2 separate regions of the Homo sapiens genome follow, and region 1 is linked to region 2. Evidence: promoter capture Hi-C in human tissues and cell types (Jung and others, 2019). All regions are on one chromosome and are shown on one strand. The core of a region is centred on a gene start or on the middle of the fragment in contact, and the rest is flanking DNA. Distances in the headings are between cores, read along the strand shown.

The links. Contacts are between HindIII fragments. The study calls those that stand out against the background at their distance.
Region 1: a fragment that was not itself captured here is called in contact with the fragment with the promoter of CALU in region 2 in 1 of the 25 tissues and cell types used here (hippocampus).

Annotation. Positions count from the first base shown.
Region 1 is chr7:129,297,017-129,301,136 of GRCh38, forward strand. All of the region lies in intron 1 of AHCYL2 (adenosylhomocysteinase like 2), which reads left to right. Among named protein-coding and RNA genes, the nearest start is that of AHCYL2, 74 kb to the left of the region's middle. The HindIII fragment of the contact is 3,657 bases long and covers 1-3,111 here.
Region 2 is chr7:128,736,783-128,740,644 of GRCh38, forward strand. It overlaps CALU (calumenin), which reads left to right and starts at 2,577. Exons shown (of 7, transcript NM_001219.5): 1 at 2,577-2,650. RefSeq lists silencers at 2,184-2,323, 2,394-2,533 and an enhancer at 2,814-2,913. The HindIII fragment of the contact is 3,801 bases long and covers 417-3,862 here.

The DNA of each region.
Region 1 (4,120 bases), core at 33-2,532, 560 kb after region 2:
ATTTAATATATGTCAACCTTTCTGAAGTGGGTAGCCAACTTGTGAAGACTGTGTGTACACATGCACACTGATCTATTGTAGCCTTGGCACATTGTGTGACTTTAAGTAGGGTGATTGGGGATGTGAAAGGTAAAAGGATTGTAGAGAGGTGGCTGCTCCAAAGAGGAGGAATTTCTGAAAACATCACTGTTTATTCCAATTACAAATTTTTTGTAGTGCTATGTCCCCTGGTTAATGATGGTGTCAGTGGTTGCCTGTGAGTCCTTTGCACTCTAGTATGCTTTGCTTTGAAGTAAACTTCATCTTAGGACCGGGCTGAGTTGTGCATACTGCTGAAATTAAAGGTACTGAAAAAGCATAGGGTAGACAGGCCCCAAGGGAGAAGCGACTGTTGGGAGCTTTGGAAAACTAGCGAACAGCTCCAGAGCACTGGTGCTTGGGGAGCAGAAGTGTCACATGTTGAGATAGGAAATTTAGAATGCCTTTGCTTGAGACCTAATTGGTCTCCTTCCTCCTATAGACTGCTAGAAATTTCTACGTAGCTCTGGACTACGGGTCCCGAAGTTGGAACCACCATTCTATTCCTGTCATTTGTAGTATGGAAAAGTAACTTTTTTCTTGTTTATAAAATGAGAAAAATTTTTGAGAAGAATTTTTTTTTAATGAGTGAAAGTATATGGTGTTTGATAGGGTAATTGAGAGCTGTAATCAAAATCATTACCTGGCTGGATGCAGTGGCTCATGCTTGTAATCCCAGCACTTTGGGAGGCCAAGGCATGGGAAGATCCTTTGAACCTGGGAGTTTGAGACCAGCCTGGACAACATAGGGAGAGCCAGTCTCTAAAAAAAATTAAAAATTAGCCCGACATGGTGGTGGACTAATCCACTAATAGTGTCAGCTACTCAGGAGTCTTAGGTGGGAGGATTGCTTGAGCTGGGGAGGTTGAGGCTGCAGTGAGCCATGATCCTGCCCCTGCATTCCAGCTTGGGTGACAGCGAGATCCTGTCTCCAAATAAACAAATCATTACCTGCTGAAATAGTCATTCCCAGTTTATATAATCAGATAGCTAGAGGGTAACTATAGACAAGAAAGCCTGTGGTTTAATTTGATAGGAAAGACTCTAACCTCATTGAGAGAAAACGATCAGAAAATATTCCTTTTCTAATGGCAAGAGAGGAAAAACTTATAAATTAGGTTCATATTATATAGGGAGTGGGGTATTCACCAGCCAGCCTATTTCTGATTCCTTAGTGAAATCTGATTTAGGAAATACAAGGTAGCCTGGTTTTATTGTTGAACAAGGGAAGGAGAAAATCACTTTGTCTTATCTAGTTAACTAAATATTTCAAGGTAAGGATATGAAGATAGTTTAAATTTCCGTTACAACTGGTATCAAATTTTGCTTCTCTGCTTTGATTAGAAACTGTCTCCACCTGCTGGCCGCAATTCACTTGGCATTTCATGAGGACACCTGGTTTTTTGTTTTGTTTTCTTGAAACATATAACAGCTATGGAAAGTACTTAGGCAGGGTTGTAGTGACTAAAATACCTCTATGTAGCTTTTCCTAAAATTCCCAGAAGGATTTTGGAGTTTTTTCCTAAACTTTGCTTGGGGGATAATGGAAAAGAAGCAACGTAAGGCCTTACAAGAACCAAACCAAAGCAGCACATTTGCAGTGTTTGTTTGATATTTGTCATTCTACCAAGTGATTTGTCTATTTTATGTATTATATTAAACTGTTTAAGCTTTGTTATTTATAATTAAGGTCATTATTTTCCAAATTGCTGTTAGTTTCACCTCTTTTGCCTGTTTGGAAATAATTATCACAATCATTACTGAATTATACAATAAAATAAAACTTTTCTTGGTCTAAAGGTAGGCAAGCTTTTTCTGTAAAGGCTCAGATGGTAAGTGTTTTAGGCTTTGCAGGCTATATGTTTTTTGTTGTAACTACTCAAACCTGTTATTGTAGCGAAAAAAAGTATATAGGCAATACATAAATGAATGAGTTCCAAAAATACTTAATGGAAACCAAAAATTTGAATTTGATACAATTTCCATGTGCCATGATATATTGTTCTTTTTTAAATTTTTTGACATTTTTGGGGGGAGAATCAGGGACAGACTGGAAATTTTTCAACCATTTAAAAATGTAGAAACTATGGGGCATGGTAGTCCATGTCTGTGATCCCATGGGAAGATCGCTTGAGGCTGGGAGTTTGAGAGCAGCCTGGGAACCATAGCAAGTCCCCTCCTCTACCAAAAAAAAAAAAACAAAAAACTATCCGGGCATAGTGGCTCACCTGTAGTTTCAACTATTCAGGAGGCTGAGGTGGGAGAGTCCAACTTGTTTTTTTTTTTTTTTTTTTTTTTTTTTTTTTTTTTTTTTTTTGAGATGGAGTCTCGCTCTGTCCCCCAGGCTGGAGTGCAGTGGCGCGATCTCGGCTCACTGCAAGCTCCGCCTCCCGGGTTCACGCCATTCTCCTGCCTCAGCCTCCCGAGTAGGTGGGACTACAGGCACCCGCCACCACGCCGTGCTAATTTTTTGTATTTTTAGTAGAGACAGGGTTTCACCATGTTAGCTAGGATGGTGTCGATCTCCTTACCTCGTGATCCACCCGCCTTGGCCTCCCAAAGTGCTGGGATTACAGGCATGAGCCATCACGCCCAGCCAGATTCCAACTTTTAGGAGTACTTCCGTAACAAAGAAAACTTGTCAGAGGGGTGTTGTACCTGTTCCATCTCATCACCAACCACATGGCATAGAAGTACAGAACTTTGTATATGTGGAAGATGATTCTTTACCCACACATGTAGGATCATGACCTGTTGTGGTTTGATTATATACCCACGGTTTAGATAATTTAAGTTCAAAACACTGAAATAATTTTTTAAAGGAGAAGACTCTTTTTAAAATTTTTGAGACCAGCCTGGAAATTTTATACATACAGGAGAAAACTTGAAAAATTTTTTTATTTATTTAAAATTTTTAATTTTCGTGGGTACATAGTAGGTGCATATATTTATGGAGTTTATGGAATATTTGATACAGGCATATGTTGCGCAATAATTACATCAAGGTAAATGAGGGTATCTATCAACTCAACCATTTATCATATTACAATCCTATTATACTCTTTTAGTTATTTTAAAATGTACAATTAAATTATTATTGACTATAGTTACCCTGTTGTGCTATCAGATACCAGATCTTATTCATTCTTCCTGGTTTTTTGTACCCATGAGCCATCCCCGCCTCCCCCCCAGCCTCCTCACTACCCTTCCCAACCTTTGGTAACCATCATTCTACTCTCTATCTCCATGAGTTCAATTCTTTTAATTTTTATCTCCCAGAAATAGGTGAGAATATGCAAAGTTTGTCTTTCTGTGCCTGGCTTATTTCACTTAACATAAGGATATCTACTTTGATTCATGTTGTTGCAAATGACAGGATCTCATTCTTTTTTATGGCTGAATAGTACTCCATTGCTTATATGTACCACATTTAAAAAAATCTATTCGTCTGTTGATGGACACTTAGGTTGCTTCCAAATACTGGCTGTTGTGAACAGTGCTACAACAAACATGGGAGTGCAGATATCTCTTCAATATACTGACTTCCTTTCTTTTGAATATATGTCCAACAGTGGGATTGCTGGATTATATGGTGGTTTTATTTTTAATTTTTTGAGGAGTCTCTAAATTGTTCTTCATAGTGTATGAGGGTTTCCTTTTCTCCATATCCTTGCCAGCATTTGTTATTGCCTGTCTTTTGGATATACGCCATTTCAGCTGTGGCAAGATATTTCATTGTAGTTTTTCTATGTTTTTTTGAGATGGAGTCTCACTCTGTCGCCCAGGCTGGAGCGCAGTGGCACAATCTCAGCTCACTGCAATCTCCACCTCCTGGGTAAGGGATTCTCCTGCCTTGGCCTGCCAAGTAGTTGGGATTACAAATCTGAATAATTTTTGTATTTTTAGTGAAGATGTGGTTTCACCATGTTGGCCAGGCTGATCTCAAACTCCTGACCTCAACTGATCTGCCCACCTTGGCCTCCCTAAGTGCTAGGATTATAGGTGTGAGCCACTGCACCTGGCCTTGAGCATCTTTTCATAC
Region 2 (3,862 bases), core at 1,327-3,826:
GGCTCTTGGCTCTTTCTCTTTGGCTATTCCGCCATCACATAGACTTCCTATGTCTTGAACTCAATTGACTTCCCTCATTCCATGCACCTAGCTCATTCTCCTAGTCTCCCATGATTAAACCTTTTAACTTTTGAGTGCTCCTTCTTCATTTCTTTCATTCGAGTGGTCACTAAGCTCAGGACTTATTTCCACTTTTAAAATCTCTCTTGTGGCTGGGCACCGTGGCTCATGCCTGTAATCCCAGCACTTTGGGAGGCCGAGGCAGGCGGATCACTAGAGGTCAGGAGTTCGACATTGGCCTGACCAACATGGTGAAACCTTGTCTCTACTAAAAATACAAAAATTAGCCAGGCGTGGTGGCACATGCCTGTAATCCCAGTTACTTGGGAGGCTGAGGCAGGAGAATCACTTGAACCTAGGAGGCGGAGGTGCAGTGAGCCAAGGTCGCACCATTGCACTACAGCCTGGGCGACAAAAGCAAAACTCCATCTCAAAAAAAAAGAAAAACAAAACAAAACAAACAAACAAAAAAACTCTTGTATATAAAGGTTCATTTCCATTTCCCTTTCCCTTGCTAGGCCAGGCCCTTCTCCATTAGGGAACCTCAGGGTTGGAGGGCCCTATCTCTGGCACCCTCACTACCTGTTTAGCCTTTACTAGGACAATTCCAGGATGGATGGCGCACCATTAAGCTGAGTTCCTTGAGGACAGGGACGATGTCCTGTTTACTTTGGGTTCACCAGCACATAACACAGTGCCTGACCTTAAGGAGTTGTTATTTTTATTTTTTAAGAGAAAGGGTCTTGCTCTGTTGCCCAGGCTGGAGTGAAGTGGTACAGTCATAGTTCATTGCAGCCTCAACCTCCTGGGCTCAAGCAACTAGCTTGAACTACATGTGTGTGCCACCACACCCAGCTAATTTTTAGTTTTTGTTTTTTTGTAGAGATAGGGGGAGGAAGGGTCTCGTTATTTTGCCCAGGCTGGTCTCAAACTCCTGGCCTCAAGTGATCCTTAAGGAGGTATTTTAAAAACTGTTTTCGAAATAATGCCTCCTGAGGTAGCCTGTTTTATTGTTAATACCCATTAGATGGCTTCCCTGTAGGCACAAGCTTAGAAACTTTCCCAGGAAGACCCACAGTTCCCACTGTCTTCAGTTCAGGTTCCTCAAATTGACAAGATCTTCCATTACCTCTCCAAACTTACTATCCATGCTTTTCTTTCATTGTTTCCCCCCACCCCTTTTTTTAACCTTCCTCATTTGCTACCTGGCCTGAGAATTTACCTCCCACTCTGCCCTCCACTTGTCCTTATTCCTATTACTCTTCTTGCTGAATAGTCCATTTGGGACTTCCTTAGTCCAGCCTTAGTCATATCTTCCTCTGAAGCCTTCCCTGACTACCACCAAGGGTCACTGACACTCCTTTGAATGCCAGAAGGATTAGTTGTAAACCTTTCACGTTGACAGTAACTAGCTTGCTTTCATGAGCTTAACTGTTTCATGAGTTTACAACTTGTCTCAATTTGATTTTAAACTACAGAGGCTTTATGTGCTAAGAATGCCACAGGTTTACATTCCATTTGTGTTGAAGCTATAGTAGCCTTTATTTGATATTTGTTTTAATTTCATGACATGAAATTAAATTTTCAGGGACATGCAACGGGTTCGGCCCATTCCCTTCACTTAACATTACTGAGCTGGGCAGTAAGCTCAGAGTTGCAGATATAAAGATGAATAGACAGATACCTACCCAGGAGCTTACTCTAGAAGAGGACAGATGGATAAGCTACATTTTATAGCAGAATTTGGCAAAGTGTACTGAAGCTATAAACAGCTATGATGGTAAATAAGGTAAGAATTATGCTTAGTGAGGTCAGGGAAGGCTTCTAGAGCTAACATCTGAACTGGGACTTCTATTGGCAAGGCAGAAAATCAGGAAAACGCACTTATTCCTGGCAGAGGAAGCCTCTTGATCAAAAATCTTAAGAGATGAAAAAGGACCGGTTGTTAGGAAACAGATGATGGTGCCCAGAGCGCAAGATGAGGGGGAGTGTTGGGAGATGGAGCTAAAAGATACACTGGTGCCAAAGACTGAAGAGCCTCCTGTAGATAGCGCAGGGCGCAGCGCTGAAGGGAAAGAAAAAGTTGGGATTGTTCAATAAAGTTGGTGACTGATTCAGTCGGATTAATTCCGCCCTGGTGGTCTTGTGGGAATGAAGATAACTAGCAGGATAGTCTAAGAAGCCCTGTGGAAGCAGAGTCATGAGCTGTGAATGGGGACGTGGCGGCCACACGGCCGCGCCCACGCCACCCGCAGTACGGGGCTGGGGCTGGGGCTGGGGCTGGAGCCCGCCGTCCCAACAATCCCGGGGACGAGAGTTGGGCGGGAATCCGCTCCACGCAACTCGGCGCGGTCCCGGGGACGTGGCGCTTTCCAGCCAATCCCGGCTATGCGATTGTTAGACCAATGGCTACTCGGGGACGCTATGCGACAGCGGCGGGTTTGCTGATGATTGGTCGGGAGGCCGCCGGCGAGGCGGATGAGGGCGGGGTGCGGACCCGCTTCCGGTTGGGCGGTGCTTGCGCGCGTGAGCTGAGCCGGTGGGTGAGCGGCGGCCACGGCATCCTGTGCTGTGGGGGCTACGAGGAAAGGTAAGTACGGTGATGCCCAGCCCCTTCACCACTGCCTCATCTTTATTCGCTTTCTTTCTGTCCCCGGTCTTGTTCTTGGCGCGGCAGGGGACTGCCTCACTCGGTGCCGCTGTCTCTGCTGGCGCCCGGGTCCCAGGCCTGATGCTGCTGGAGATCCCGGGACCCTCTGTGTGCAGCCTGGGATGGAGGCCGCCGCCCGTCTTACCGCGCGCTCTGGGAAGGGGGCTGGTCCGGTGGAACTCTGTCCCGTTGGGTACTGTTCTGTGCCTGGTTTGCTGCGTCCTGGTCCTCCATCTCTAGGTCACGCCACTCACCGAGTCTCTGGCACCAGAGGGTCATTTTTTGCCTCCGGAAGGTCGGAGGGCATTTGGATAGTGTTATTGTAAGAGTTCCTTGCCGCCTCCACTCACCATCCTGCTTGTATCTGCCAGCTCCGCCCCAAGGCCACATCCCGACAGTAGGGTGCATCTGCCAAGGTCGTGTTCACTCACCTAAAGGGTGCAGAAACAAGGGGGGAGAGAACGAGTGACGACACTAGGTGATATCTATGATTTTAAAGAAAAGCTGAATGTTTAGAGCTTCCATATTTGGCTACGTACTTCAGTTAGCGACGGAAAATAGTTTTTAAAGCTTTATTGGGGAATTAATTTTTGTTACGTTTTTTGTTGCTTCTAGCCCCATATCCTACTGATTTTTAGCATGCTGCGGTCAGAAATAAACTTAATTCCCTATAGCTGCCGCGATTAAGCGTAGAGTGGCTTGCAGTTTCAAAAGCTGCTTTTGCATCAAGGCCCAAGCTCCGTGGGTCTCCTGCTAAAACTTTTGAGCCTGTGATCTGAATTCCTAAGTGTATAAAATTCTAGAATAGTGTCTTCGAGAATTGAGTTGCGTTCATTTTCTGGTGTGGACCATGAAGTCAACGTTAATGAATTGGGAATAAGGTGGCTTCTAGTTGTTTTTTGTTCTAGTAGCTTATTCAGCTTGGAGGCAGAGAACCTTGGAATCTCTGTTAAATTAGTCTGCCATAGAATGGAACTTGACACAAGACAAATGCAAGTTTGACCTCACTCAGTAGATTTAATTAACCAAATACCAAACGACAGTAATCACTGAAGAATTTATATAGTATAATCCAAATGAGGGACCAGATATAACCTCTAAGTTGTATTTGTCAAGAAAATGAGTTTGCCAAGACCTAATCTGAGGTTTTAC